3 separate regions of the Homo sapiens genome follow, and regions 1 and 3 are each linked to region 2. Evidence: promoter capture Hi-C in human tissues and cell types (Jung and others, 2019). All regions are on one chromosome and are shown on one strand. The core of a region is centred on a gene start or on the middle of the fragment in contact, and the rest is flanking DNA. Distances in the headings are between cores, read along the strand shown. Region 1 overlaps BCAS3 (BCAS3 microtubule associated cell migration factor). Region 2 holds the start of TBX4 (T-box transcription factor 4). Region 3 overlaps BCAS3 (BCAS3 microtubule associated cell migration factor).

Region 1 (4,491 bases), core at 675-3,174, 750 kb after region 2:
ACATGATTCCATATCCAGCAAAATTCAGAATTATAAACTTATGTACCTAGGGCATAATTATTTTTACACCTGACATTCAAATGGTGTTTTTGGCTGGGCGTGGTGGCTCACGCCTGTAATCCCAACACTTTGGGAGGCTGAGGTGGGCAGATCACTTGAGGTCAGAAGTTCAAGACCAGCCAGGCCAAAATGCTGAAACTAAAATACAAAAATTACTAAAAATACAAAAATTAGCTGGGCGTGATGGTGCATGCTTGTAATCCTAGCTACTGGAGAGGCTGAGGCAAGAGGACTGCTTGAACCCAGGAGGCGGATGTTGCAGTGAGTCAAGATTGTGTCACTATACTCCAGCCTAAGGGACAGAGTGAGACTCTGTCTCATAAATAAATAAATAAGTAAATAAATAAATAAACAAATGGTGTTTTATAAGTTTCTATGTGCTTTTGTGTACATCATCAAATCTGACATATCAATTCTGTTTTATTTATTTTTGAGACGGAATCCTGTTTTTTTGTTGTTCTTGTTTTGTTTTTTGTTCTGTTTTTGTTTTCTTTGAGACGGAGTCTCGCTCTGTCACTAAGGTTAGAGTGTAGTGATGCAGTCTTGGCTCACTGCAACCTCTGCCTCCCAGGTTCAAGCAATTCTCTCCACCTCAGTCTCCCAAGCAGCTGGGATTACAGATGCCCACCACCACACCCAGCTAATTTTTGTATTACTTAGTAAAGATGGGGTTTCACCATGTTGGCCAGGCTGGTCTTGAACTCCTGACCTCAGGTGATCCACCTGCCTCAGCCTCCCAAAGTGCTGGGATTACAGGCGTGAGCCACTGTGCCTGGCCCTGGAATCCTTTTTTATATGCAGAGAGGTCAACTTCATTTTATCATTGGCAAAAACAAGTTAGGTATACTTTACTCATAACTGAATGAGAAATCTTAGGGCTTTTTGATACTCAATCCAATCATCTTTCTACCACAAGTACCATCTTGATCCCAGGTTCAAATGCCACACATAAAACCCCTGAGGTCATAATATATACAAAATCTCCTTTTTCTTATTTTAGATTTCACTTAGTCACTTTCTCTGGATGGTGGTGATACAGCAGATTTCTTTTATTATTATTTCTTTTTGTAAATACAGACAGAGTTTCACTGTGTTGCCCAGACTGGTCTCGAACTCCTGGGCTCAAGCAGTACTCTTGCCTCAACCTCCCAAAGTGCTGGATTACAGGCATAAGCCACCAGGCCTGGCCAGACTTTATTGTTCTTGAACAAAAACCTTAATTTTGTAGAAATGTTATATTATTCCTCAAAGTTATTATACATTTAAGTAAATCCTTTTTCCTTGGCTTTCCTTTCATTTTATATCCTCTATCATAGAATCACTATTTATTTTCTCCACTGCTGCTCTTTTTTTTTTTTTTTTTTTTTTGTGAGACGGAGTCTCGCTCTGTCACCCAGGCCAGTGCAGCGGTGCAATCTCGGCTCAGCTCACTGCAAGCTCTGCCTCCCAGGTTCACACCATTCTTCTGCCTCAGCCTCCCGAGTAGCTGGGACTACAGGCGCCCGTCACCACGCCTGGCTAATTTTTTGTATTTTTAGTAGAGACGGGGTTTTACCGTGTTAGCCAGGATGGTCTCAATCTCCTGACCTCGTGATCTGCCTGCCCCAGCCTCCCAAAGTGCTGGGATTACAGGCGTGAGCCATCGTACCCGGCCTATTTTCTTTACTGGCTTCTTTTTTCTTATTCTACCTCTAAATCTGAACTTTACGGTCTTTCCTATAGAGACATCTAGCATTCTTGCATGGTTTCAGCCAACTACAATGTCCTCCCTTCCTTTGATTCACCCATCCTTCAAAACCTTGTCCAGTCTTAACTTATCTGTGAATCTTCCATGACTGCACTCAGTATACTCTCCCTCCTTAGAAGACTGTTTGCAACTGGTGGGAGGATAGGGATACTGGATTTCTATTCACACCTCAAAAGTCAAGGTGTAAAGTGAAACCGAATCTTTTTTTTTTTTTTTTTTTTTGAGACAGAGTCTCACTCTGTCACCCAGGCTGGAGTGCAGTGGTGCAATCTCAGCTCACTGCAACCTCCACCTCCTGGCTTCAAGCAATTCTCTTGCCTCAGCCTCCCAAGTAGCTGGGATTACGGGCACCTGCCACCATGCCCAGCTTATTTTTTAGTTATTTATTTATTTATTTTGTATTTTTAGTAGAGACGGGGTTTCACCATGTTGGCCAGGCTGGTCTTGAACTCTTGACCTCAGGAGATCCACCTGCCTCGGCCTCCCAAAGCACTGGGATTACAGGCATGAGCCACCACGCCCAGCCAAAACTGAATCTTTCTTCCCAAACCTGCTTCTTTCTTTTCCTTCCTCCCTTCCCTCCTTCCCTCCCTCATTTATTCATTCATTCATTCAGAGGTAGGGTCTTGCCCTGTCACCCAGTCTGAAGCGCAGTGACACAAACACAGCCTGCTGAAGCCTCGACCTCCTGGGCTGAAGCAATCCTCCCACCTCAGCCTCTCGAGTAGGTAGGACTACAGGGACATACCACCATACCCAGCTAATTTTTTAATATTTTTTTGTAGAGATGGGGTTTTGCCATGTTGCCCAGGCTGGTCTTGAACTCCTGGGCTCAAGTGATCTACCCGTCTTGGCCTCCCAAAGTCCTGGGATTACAGGCATGAGCCACCGCGCCCAGCCTTTCAAGTCATTTTTGTACACTCTAAAAGGTAAATAATGATAGGGGCAGAAAATAACATTTCACCTAGAGGGTCCCCTTTGCAAAGATCCTGAGGCATGAAAAGTTCTGTGGCTTTAATGACCTGAAAGGTAAATAGGGTCAGTGCACAGCTGCTAAGGAGAGACAATTAGATGGGAAAAGAAATCAGAGTTTGAGGCATCTGTGGGACATCTATGTGAGGATGTCTAGGAGGCATCTTCAGGTAGCTAAGGGACCCAAGCTTCTAAAGCAATAGAAGCTGATAGCAGCATTTTCTTTTAGAGATGGGGTCTCACTATGTTGCCCAGGCTGGACTGCAGTGGCTGTTCACTGATGCAGTTTCACTACTCATCAGCATGGGAGTTTTAACTGTTTCTGAACTGGGCTGGTTCACCCCTCCTTAGGCAACCTGGTAGTTCCCCACTCCTGGGAAGTCACCATATTGATGCTGAACTTAGTGCAGACACCCAATCGGCATAGCACATTATAGCTCAGAACTCCTGGACTCGAGCGATTCTCCTACCTCAGCCTCCTGAGCAGCTGGGACTACAGGTGCATGCAACTGTGCCCAGCTGTAGCAGCTATTACCTTTGTGTACCTCACACACTTTCTACTCTGTAACTCCCTCTATTCTGGTAACTAATCTTATCCTCCATCAAGCACAGGGATAGGCACATGACCAGCTGAGCAATTCTAGTACTACATCCTTGGCCACAGCAACTATTCCAATAATGGGAGAGTGACTCAGACTGAGCCATCTGGATCTCCTAATGAATACTTTTTCCTCTTTGATTGTATCATATAATCATAAAGGTATGAATAAAGAGCTTTGAGTAACCACTGCACCAACTGTCTCTTTGTTAAAGAAGTCAAAGAAGAGATGCAAACATTCAGAAAGAAGTAGTGACAAGAAGTGGACAAAGATTAAAAGTATGAAGCCCCAATCTTTCCCAGATCCATGAGTAGATTATTTTTAAATCCCCTATGAGCCCAAGTACAGTGGCTCATGCCTGTATCCCAGCACTTTAGGAGGCTGAGGCAGGAGGATTCCTTGAGGCCAGTAGTTCAAGATCAGCCTGGGCAACATAGCAAGACCTCATCTCTACAAAAAATTTAAAAATAAGCTGGGCATGGTGGCATGTGCCTATAGTGCTAGCTACTTGGGAGGCTAAGGCAGGAGGATCATATGAGCCCAGCAGTTCAAAGTTGCAGTGAGCTGTGATCATTTCACTGCATTCCACCCTGAATGACACAGCAAGACTTGTCTCTAAAAATAAAATTTTAAATCTTCTATGGAAAACAGTATGGTGGTTCCTCAAAAAATTTAAAAAAGAATTACCATATGATACAACAATTCCACTAGAAGAGATATTTGTACACCCATGTTCATTACAGCATTGTTCCCAAAGCCAAAAGGTAGAAGCAACACAAATGTCTTTCAATAAATGAATGAATAAAATAAAATGTGGTACAGGGCTGGGCGCGGTGGCTCACACCTGCAATCCCAACACTTTGGGAGGCCGAGGTGGGCAGATCACGAGGTCAAGAGACCATCCTGGCCAACATGATGAAACCCCGTCTCTACAAAAATACAAAAATTAGCTAGGTGTGATGGCGCACGCCTGTAGTCCCAGATGCTAAGGAGGCCGAGGCAGGAGAATCGCTTGAACCTGGGAGATGGAGGTTTCAGTGAGCTGAGATCACGCCACTGCACTCCAGCCTGGGTGACAGAGCGAGACTCCATCTCAAAAAAAAAAAAAAAAAA
Region 2 (4,632 bases), core at 1,531-4,030:
AAAGTAAACAAGCCAAGTGCAACCCAGGAGATAAAAAGGGGCCGGGGCCAGTCTGGGTTGGGAAAAACCCATAAAGATAAGGTTGACAGGCGGACCAGTCTTCGGCCACAGCCTGCAGGGAGTGAGACTCGCTGGACATGGCCAGCGCCAGCACCCGCCTCGGGCCACGTGCGAACGCGGGCCGAGCCTCGGAAACCTAGGAGTCCCCACACAGGGCCGCTGCGCCAGTAGGGTAGCTGCCCGCTCCGGCCAGCGCGCTGGGTCCAACTATATCTAGGGCCCCGGCGGGATCGGCTCCAGCGACCAAGCGATCCGCTGGTCCCAGATGTGGCGGCCTGCGGGGTCGCAAGGAGGGGCCGTCTCGCGCTTGGCCCGCATGGCCATGGGGTCCTCTGCTGGGCTCTTGTCACACCCGGAGCCGTGCAGCGGAGCCCTGCGGCTCGCGCCCTGCGCTCTCAGTCCTACGCGCTCAGCCCTGCCCTGTGAGGAGCTGGTTCACCGCCCGCGTCCACTGACGCCGGTCCCGCAGCTCGGACTGGGGACGAGGCCTGCTCAGTGCTCTCCCTCCCGGGCTCAGGGTTTGCCTCTTCCTTTTCTCTCCGCCACGAAGCCACATCCAGACCTCGGGACAGCTTGCCCCCTTCCCAGCAATTTCCTTTTTTCCACGCCCGGCTGGCCCGGGGCGGCCGTCCTCGCGGTCCTCTCGGACCTCGAGCTTGGGCGCGCTCGGCCGCCGCCAGCACCGCGGGGTCCCGCACTCAGCACCGCATAGCGGTCCGCTCTCGTCCTTCACATCCACTCCTCCGCGGGTGCGGCCCGCAACCTCCGCTGCCTTTGCGATGGGGTCTGTTGCTTTCAGCTGCCTCGTTTTCCAAAGACGACAGCATTTCTCTTTTCATTTTTAGGTTACTGGGGATATGTTTCTTGCACTAGGGGAACTGTTACTATTTCGTGCTTTTTAAAATATTTTAATTGTCCTTATTACCATAGTAGTATTTTGATCAGTTCGGGAACTTTGAGAATATCCTATCGCGTGGATTATTACTACTTTGTATCTTTAATACTGTATGGTTAAAGCCCTGCTTTGATTCGTTAGCTTACTGTTACTAAATTTGTTGTTTTCCTGTCACTGTTCCATCATTTCAGGGCCGCCTGGCACATTCATAATACTATTTCCAATATCGAGGTGACATAGTGAACAATAGGTCACGTTAATCTATTGTAATTTTTTATTCTTGCTTTGTATCCCTAATACGTTTCCGTTGCTTGCTCTTCATTTTGATTATACTTTGTCACGCTGTTTCAATAACTTCTTGTTTACCATAACTTGTTATATAATTGTTCTCAAAATTCATGTTAATTTCCCTCACATCCTTATAATACTTCTTGTTATCTAACCACAATTTGTTTTGTTAGGCTTGCTCATAACACTCCAGGTATTATTCTTCAACACACCCCGACAGTATCTTGTTACTTTGTCATTATTTGTAATGTTACAGATCTGAACTCGCTAGTTACTCATCACATCATTACTTCTTGTTATTTTGTCATACTTTGTAATATTGTTGTAGCTCTTAATACTCTGATTATTTTTCATCACATTGGTACAATACTTCTTATTACTCAACCATTATTTATAATGTTCTTGTGACTATTAATACATTGGTCATAAATTGTCATATTACTCCAGCAATTCTTGTTAATATGTCTTTATTTATATTACTATTGCTCCTAAGATTTTAGTTAATATTTCTTTTAATAGTTCACTGTAGTATCAATAATACATTATATTATTATATCACTACCACTAATAGTATTTCCCTTAATAGTATTTTCATTGTTCATCTTTCTCCTACAGTTCGTTTGCTAGTTTCCTACAGTTTGGTAATTTGTTACACTATTACTATATGTTATATTAGTGCAATTGGTTTTAATAAACAGTCCTTACATTGTTCCTCTATTTAGAATTACTTTGTCTTTAATCCTTTTAAAAATTGTGATTACTATTTTCACTTGATTCTGAAAGTGACTATGATTGTATTATTTGGAAGTTCACGTGTTATATCAGTTATGCCGATTAGCCCTTTCTTTGGTAATTGTTCACATTCCAATAATCTTTAATCATCGATCATTATTTATATATAATGTTCCTTGCTTTAATTTTGACTAGTCTATTGCATCAAAGGCTCTGAGTCTAGTGTTCTGATCACTCACATATCTACACGGATTTTCGCTCCAGTACCGGGGCCCTCTTCCTTGGCCTTGCATATTCTGCAAACACCAATTTCCAGGCCACCGCTCCGCCTGTCACGGCCTTGTTCTTAGGGTGCTGGCGCTGTCGATATTTCTATGCTCTTGGATCTCTAGACCCAATTCATCGCGTTACTCAGAGAGGAGGGCTCGTGCCCCAACTACTGGGTGTCGGGCCGAGGCGGCGGCCCGACCCAAGGCACTTCGCGCCGCCTTCCTGCAACTTTGACCGCCCCTGAAGTTCTTCCCCGGGTCGCGTGACTCACCCCTTTCCAGCTCATCCTCCTGTCCGTCCCCGCAGCCTAACCCTGAGCCCCTGTGGCCCCAGCCCCGCACGCCCAGCTCGTCCCCACTCGGCTGGAACCCACACTCACCCTAATTGCGGTGCCGCATGCGGAGGCGCCAGCGGCCCGAGGTCCCCTGCAGGTTCGGGTCCGAGGAGCGCGGGACGGCCGGGGCTCCGACTCCGCGCCGCTGGGTCAGGGTCCAGCTGCCTGCCGTGCCCTCGGGGCTGGACACATCCCGGCTCTGGAGCGGGCCCTTGATCTCCAAGGCTGCACTTTGGGGCCTCAATTCCCTCCTCCTCCCTCCCTCCCTCTGGGGCCGCCCCCCCTCCGCGCTGACGTCGCCGCTGTCAATCAGTCTGCGCCCGCTGTCCCCCGGGGAGGGGGGCTCCAGGGTTCCCCGGCGTCGCGGTCCCCAAGATCCCGAGCCCCACGCGAGCCGCCGGCTCCTCCACCGCGCGGCCCAGTGCCCTCCTCTTGGCCCTCGGGCCCCGCGAGCCGGGTAGGGGCTGGGAGCCCCGCATGGTTTAGATTAGAGAGGCGGGAAGCAAGGGCGAGCAGCCCGGCTCTCAGCCGAGGCTCGACAACCAGGAGGGCTCGCCTGGCCCCGCCGTGCCCGAAGACTAGGACGCTCCACGACCGGGTCTGGCCACCCCCTGCCGGCGCCCGCTTCCAGGCAGCGGCTTCTACGGATCCCCGGCCGCAGAGCCCCGCTCCCCAAGCCCTGCTCCCAGCTGTGCGCGCTGTTCATTTGGGAGCCCCGGTCCCGAGGTCGCAGGCGCACACGCGCCTCACAGGCCCACGCTCCGCTTCCCTACCATGCCCACCACGCGGCCTTGCACTTCCAGGCCCTGGGCACGGCCCTTCTGCTCACCCGCCCTCCTTGTCCCGGCCCAGGGGGCCGCGGGCGCTGGACCCGGCCTGGCGCGCCTCGAAGTCGGCCGCGGAGGTCAGGGGTGAGGACTGGGAGGAAGCCCGGTGGCCGGGTGCGGGGCGGCGGCGGCAGGGAAGTGCTGGGCCGGCCTCTGAGTGGAGCCGAGTCCGGCTCGGGCCTTGACAGAGCCCAGGCCGGGCTGCAAGGTGCCAGGCTTGGCAGAGCCTCCTGGGGAAACTGCGGCCCAGGGCCAGGATTCCGCGGCAGCTCCTTGAGATCCTGGAGAGCTGAAGAGGAAGCCCAATGCCTGCCCTAGTCTAGGAAGTGGAGACTGGGGAGCGTCCTGCTCCCAGCCACCCGGTTCTTTCCGCCTCAGAAACGGAGTCCCGCTCAGCACCTAGACCTCCCTGCCCAGCCTCTGAGCTCTCTGTCTCCACTTACCTCTGTTTCTCTCTGTCTGTACCTCCCACAGGACGCTGCCTTTCCACTAGCAGACGGACCCATGCGGACCCCAGCCCGTGCCCCAGCCTCCCCGCCTGTCACATGCCCAGAATCCTGGGGCAGAAATAGGCCTGCCCACCCATCTGCAAAGACAGCAGAATCCTCATCAATAAGGATCCCCAGAGTGGTCCCTTAGTGCTTAGCATGGGCTGCATCCCTCCCTCCACCAGTGTCCTCAACCAGCCTCTGTCCCTTTCCAGATTCTGACCTCAAAATCAGCTTGAAGGGGAGAGGACAGGGAAATTCTTTTCCTGGATGGGTCTGTCCCTGTTCTAATGCTAGGAAATGGAAAGCCAGCATCAATGCCTTCTTTACCACCCTGCACTCAAAGGTGGAAGCAAAAACGCCAACTCAGAAAAGCCAGTCGCTGCTGCTGTCAGGAGCCTGAAATCCACCTCAACAGTGGGCCGCTGCTCAAGTCCCTATCACCATTGCAGTACCAGGTCCCACCACCCTATCACCATTCCTCTCATGGAGTCTCAAACCAGGGAGGGGAAATAATATCTAAGAGGAGTGGAGGAGCAGAATCCTTCCCCAAACCTGCGGACTCCTGGAATGGAGAAAGGGAAGGCCCTGGCGTTTCAGGAGATGCCTGGGGAGTCGTGTTTCCTGTGTTAGGGAGACCTGGATGACATGCCTCAGCTTCTGCTCGCAAGCCCCCTCCCATGACCTCTCCAACAGCCTGTAGGGAAATCCCTTGCAAATAAATAGTATACAGACTAA
Region 3 (4,932 bases), core at 1,071-3,570, 640 kb after region 2:
TAGCGCCAATGAGCTTTCTTCTAAAACAATATGTTGCATTTCTCTAATTTCCCAAGCTTTTCTTTGTTCTTCAGACATAACAAAACCACCCCAAACTGTGTATGTGGCCCCAAATTGCAATTCTGTTTTATGTACATTCTCAAATAAAATGTTTTGCATAGAGATTCATCTCTGTATTTTTATTTTGACTTTGACTGACACTTTCCATAGCAATTCCCCTCTTCTTAGAAAAGGCACTATGAATTTATAAAAATGAAAAGCTGGCCAGCCGCGGTAGTGCACGCCTGTAATCCCAGCATTTTGGGGGGCCGAGGCGGGCGGATCACGAGGTCAGGAGATCGGGACCATCCTGGCCAAAATGGTGAAACCCCATCTCTACTAAAAATACAAAAATTAGCTGGGCGTGGTGGTGCACACCTGTAGTCCCAGCTACTAGGGAGGCTGAGGCAGGAGAATCGCTTGAACCCGGGAGGTGGAGGTTGCCGTGAGCTGAGATCACGCCACTGCACTCCAGTCTGGCGACAGAGCAAGACTCCGTCTCAAAAAAAAAAAAAAGAAAAGAAAAAGAAAGAAAAGTTATACATCAAAAGAAAATCTTAGTGAATTTTCCCAAGAATAATTTAATAGGCAGTATTAGTTGTGAATATAAGCAACTTGACAAAGTCTAAACTACATGGGTGTTCAATAAAGTATGTGCCAGGGAGCTGGAGAGCAACCTGGACATCCCACTCCTCTCCAAATGGAGGGATGTCCTAAGGTTTTGTACCCAACTGGCTACGAAAATGTAAATACCCAGGTACAGTACATATGATTCCTTAGATTAAGAGATATTCTCAGTCATAAAAAAGTGATACTAAAAAATAAAGGATGAGTATAACTACTCGTATAGGAAGCTTCCTAAAATTCACTTAGGCAAAATATATATATATTCGAGGGTCTCCTAGATATAGGGCACTGCGCTTAATACCAAGAAAGAAATAAAGATGGGCAAGATAAAGAAAACATTCTCAAGGTACATGTGAAACTGAAGAATGTCTCTAAGCAGACACTTCATGATTATGTGTGGCTTTCTCCATCTCCATTTGATGCAGTCACTATTCTATTTGCTGTCTTGTAACTATGTATTCTCCTACTCTTTCCATTATTTCAGACTTCATTGGCTCCCTGAATGGTTCCTCGTATCACCTATATTTATGCCTATAAACTGAGTCTCATTAACTTAAATTATTTTGGAAGCATTACATCTTCTGTTCTACATCATCAGTTGCCTGCTGTTTTTTGTTACTTTATTTAAAAAACTGGAAGCAGGTGAAGGAATCTGCCCATTCTTGAAATTACTTTGTATTGGACATAAGTTGGCACTGGACTTTTTTTTTTCCTTTTTTTTTATTATTACACTTTAAGTTCTAGGGTACATGTGCACAACGTGCAGGCTTGTTACATACGTATACACGCGCCATGTTAGTGTGCTGCACCCATTAACTCGTCATTTATATTAGGTATATCTCCTAATGCTATTCCTCTCCCCTCCCCCAACCCCATGACAGGCCCCGGTGTGTGATGTTCCCCTTCCTGTGTCCAAGTGTTCTCATTGTTCAATTCCCACCTATGAGTGAGAACATGCAGTGTTTGGTTTTTTGTCCTTGCAACAGTTTGCTGAGAATGATGGTTTCCAGCTTCATCCATGTCCCTACAAAGGACATGAACTCATCCTTTTTTATGGCTGCATAGTATTCCATGGTGTATATGTGCCACATTTTCTTAATCCAGTCTATCATTGATGGACATTTGGGTTAGTTCCAAGTATTTGCTATTGTAAATAGTGCTGCAATAAACGTGCATGTGTCTTTATAGCAGCATGATTTATAATCCTTTGGGTATATATCCAGTAATGGGATGGCTGGATCAAATGGTATTTCTAGTTCTAGATCCTTGAGGAATCTAGAAGGCACAGGACTTTTAAATAATAGTGTTCCTGAAATTAGTGACCACAATTTTCTAATAGCCATGTCCTTCTTATATTATTGCTATCATGTAAAGGAGACTTCCTTTGAATTCATTAAACAATGTGTTTAAATGAAGAAAAAAATACTAAAATAAAATTGGAGAAGTCCTTTTCCACACTGAAAAATTCTAAGTAACTAAATGGTATACGTCAAACGTACTAAAATAACAAAAGTATCTTTTGCTTATGCAGAAACACTGCATCAAAATATACGCCTAACACAAAGACTCTCTTAAGAAGCTACTGTTTGCCAGAGCAATCAGGCAAGAGAAAGAAATAAAAGGCATTCAAATAGGAAAAAAGAAAAAAGCCAAATTATCTCTCTTCACTGGCAATATGATTATATACCTAGAAGACCCGAAAGACTCCACCAAAAGGCTTCTAGAACTAATAAAAAATTTCAGTAAGTTTCAGGATAAAAAAAAATAAAGGTAGTAAAATCAGTAACATTTCTATATACAAATAACGTCCAAACTGAGAGCTAAATCAAGAATGCAATCCCATTTGCAATGGGCACGCGCGCACACACACACACACACACACACACACACACACACACAAAATACCAAGAAATACATCTAATGAACAAGGTTAAAGATATAAGGAGAACTACAAGACAATGCTGAAAGAAAGCAGAGATGATACAAACAAATGGAAAAACATTCTATGCTCATGGATTGGAAGAATAAATATTGTTAAAATGGTCAAACTACCCAAAGCAATCTATAGATTTAATACTATTCCTATCAAACTACCAATGTCACTTTTCTCAAAATTAGAAAAACAACTACTCTAAAATTCATATAGAACAAAAAAGAGCCTGAAAAGCCAAAGCAATCCCAGGCAAAAAGAACAAAGCTGAGACATTATATTACCTGACTTCAAACTATACTATAAGGCTACAGTAACCAAAACAGCATGGTGCCAGCACAAAAACAGATACAGAGACCAATGGAACAGAAAAGAGAACCCAGAAATAAAGCTGCATATATCTACAACCATCTAATCTTCAACAAAGTCGACAATGACAAGCAATGGGGAAAGGACTCCCTAAACTATAAAAATCCTAGAAGAAAACCTAGGAAATACCATTCTGGACACTGGCCTTGGCAAAGTCCTCAAAAGCAATTGCAACAAAAACAAAATCGACAATTGGGAACTAATTAAAGAGCTTCTGCACAGCAAAAGAGACTATCAACAGAGCAAACAATCTACAGACCTTTGTTGGATGCACAGTTTGTGAATATCTGTAGTGAATATTTTTTGTGAATATTTATAGATTCACAAATATTCACTAACTATGCACCCAACAAATATCTAATATCCAGAATCTATAACGAATTTAAACAATTCAACAAGCAAAAAACAATGCCATTAAAAAGTGGGCAAAAGACATTAACAGACACTTCTCAAAAGAAGACATACAAAGATTAGCCAGGCAAGGTGGCATACACCTGTAGTCCTAGGTACTCTGGCAGGGATAAACAAATTGCTTAATTGCTCCTAACATAACCTCCTTTTTTTTTTTTTAAGAAATCTTTGTTACCTCTGAAAATAACTGGTCAGAAAATTGTAAATATATAAATCTGAGGTTAGGGCACTCTTAATACAGTCTATAGACGGAATATGCCTGTGTATGTATAGAGGAATGCCCTCCATAATGACAAACAGTATGGTTACTGGAAAGAACATAGCTTGAGGGTCAAGCAAAAGCCTGGGTCCATGACTAACTGTGTGACTGAACCTCTATTAGCTTCTGCATGCATAAAATAAGAATAATATGATTGGACCAGATGTGGTGGCTCATACTTGTAATTGCAACATTTTGGCAGGCTGGGATAGGAGGATTGCTTGAAGCCAGGAGTTCAAGACCAGCCTGGGTAACATCGTGGGAACTTATCTCTTAAAAAAAGAAATTTTTTTTAATTAGCCCAACAGTGGCATAACTTATAGTCCCAGCTACTCAGGAGGCTGAGATGGGAGGATCTCTTGAGCCCAGGAGTTCCAGATTATAGTGAGCTATGATTGGACCACTGCACCTGGGCCTGGGTGACCGAGGGAGACTCTGTCTCTAAAATAAATAAATGAACACACAAACTTAATTGTCATAAACTCAACTGTACATATGTATATATGTATGTATGTATGTATGTATTGACTCATGGATTGTTGATAGCACTCAAGTTCCTAGTATACTTTATCTACCTAAAAGCAGAGCAGAGCCCTCCAAAAAACTTCATTTGTCATAAATCTCCTCCCCTGGAGCAACTTAATCTCTTCTAGGACCACTCCCAAACAGATATTGTTACAAAACTATCACATCTCCTGTCTTTTCTCCTAAGGACCACCTTAATTTTCCAAAAAGTCACAAGTGCCCTTCCTTCTGCTCCCATTCTAAGAAGTCATTTGTTCTACAAAATGTGCCCTTCTACAAATTGTGTCCCTCTCCATCCCCATCTCCTACTGAGATGATATATAAGCCACCTTAAGTCACATTTTTTTGCAAACTCCTATATGTACATATGTAATTAAATCTGATTTTTTGTCCTCTTGCTAATCTGCCTTTCGTCAGTTTAAATTGCAGCCCTCTCCCCAAAGAATTTAAGAGAGAAAAGTATTCCTCCCCAACAGTAGCTACTAAAGAGTCTACTCTATTCAACATCACCATATGCTCACCTACTACAAACATTTAGACAAAAACTTAACAACAAGACATATTAGGTCTACATCCATAAAACAACTTATGAAAACAACTTATGAACTTTTTTTTTTTTTTTGAGACTGGGTCTCACTCTGTCACCCAGGCTGGAGTGCAGTGGTGAGATCTGGGCTCACTGCAACCTCTGCCTCCCAGGCTCAAGCAATCCTCCCACCTCAGCCTCCCAAGTAGCTGGGACCACAGGCGTGTGCCATCATGCCCAGCTAAT

Evidence for each region. Contacts are between HindIII fragments. The study calls those that stand out against the background at their distance.
Region 1: a contact is called between a fragment that was not itself captured here and the fragment with the promoter of TBX4 in region 2, in 1 of the 25 tissues and cell types used here (dorsolateral prefrontal cortex).
Region 3: a fragment that was not itself captured here is called in contact with the fragment with the promoter of TBX4 in region 2 in 2 of the 25 tissues and cell types used here (lymphoblastoid cells and mesenchymal stem cells).

Annotation. Positions count from the first base shown.
Region 1 is chr17:60,695,121-60,699,611 of GRCh38, reverse strand. All of the region lies in intron 4 of BCAS3 (BCAS3 microtubule associated cell migration factor), which reads right to left. It also overlaps the pseudogene RN7SL606P. Among named protein-coding and RNA genes, the nearest start is that of BCAS3, 20 kb to the right of the region's middle. The HindIII fragment of the contact is 6,409 bases long and covers 1-4,491 here.
Region 2 is chr17:61,450,570-61,455,201 of GRCh38, reverse strand. It overlaps TBX4 (T-box transcription factor 4), which reads right to left and starts at 2,780. Exons shown (of 9, transcript NM_001321120.2): 1 at 2,625-2,780. LOC124904042 (a long non-coding RNA gene) reads left to right here. Exons shown (of 2, transcript XR_007065872.1): 2 at 1-1,960. RefSeq lists enhancers at 1-286, 287-1,168, 1,969-2,810. The HindIII fragment of the contact is 13,471 bases long and covers 1-4,632 here.
Region 3 is chr17:60,811,903-60,816,834 of GRCh38, reverse strand. The region is part of intron 7 of BCAS3 (BCAS3 microtubule associated cell migration factor); the gene reads right to left. Among named protein-coding and RNA genes, the nearest start is that of BCAS3, 140 kb to the right of the region's middle. The HindIII fragment of the contact is 3,690 bases long and covers 476-4,165 here.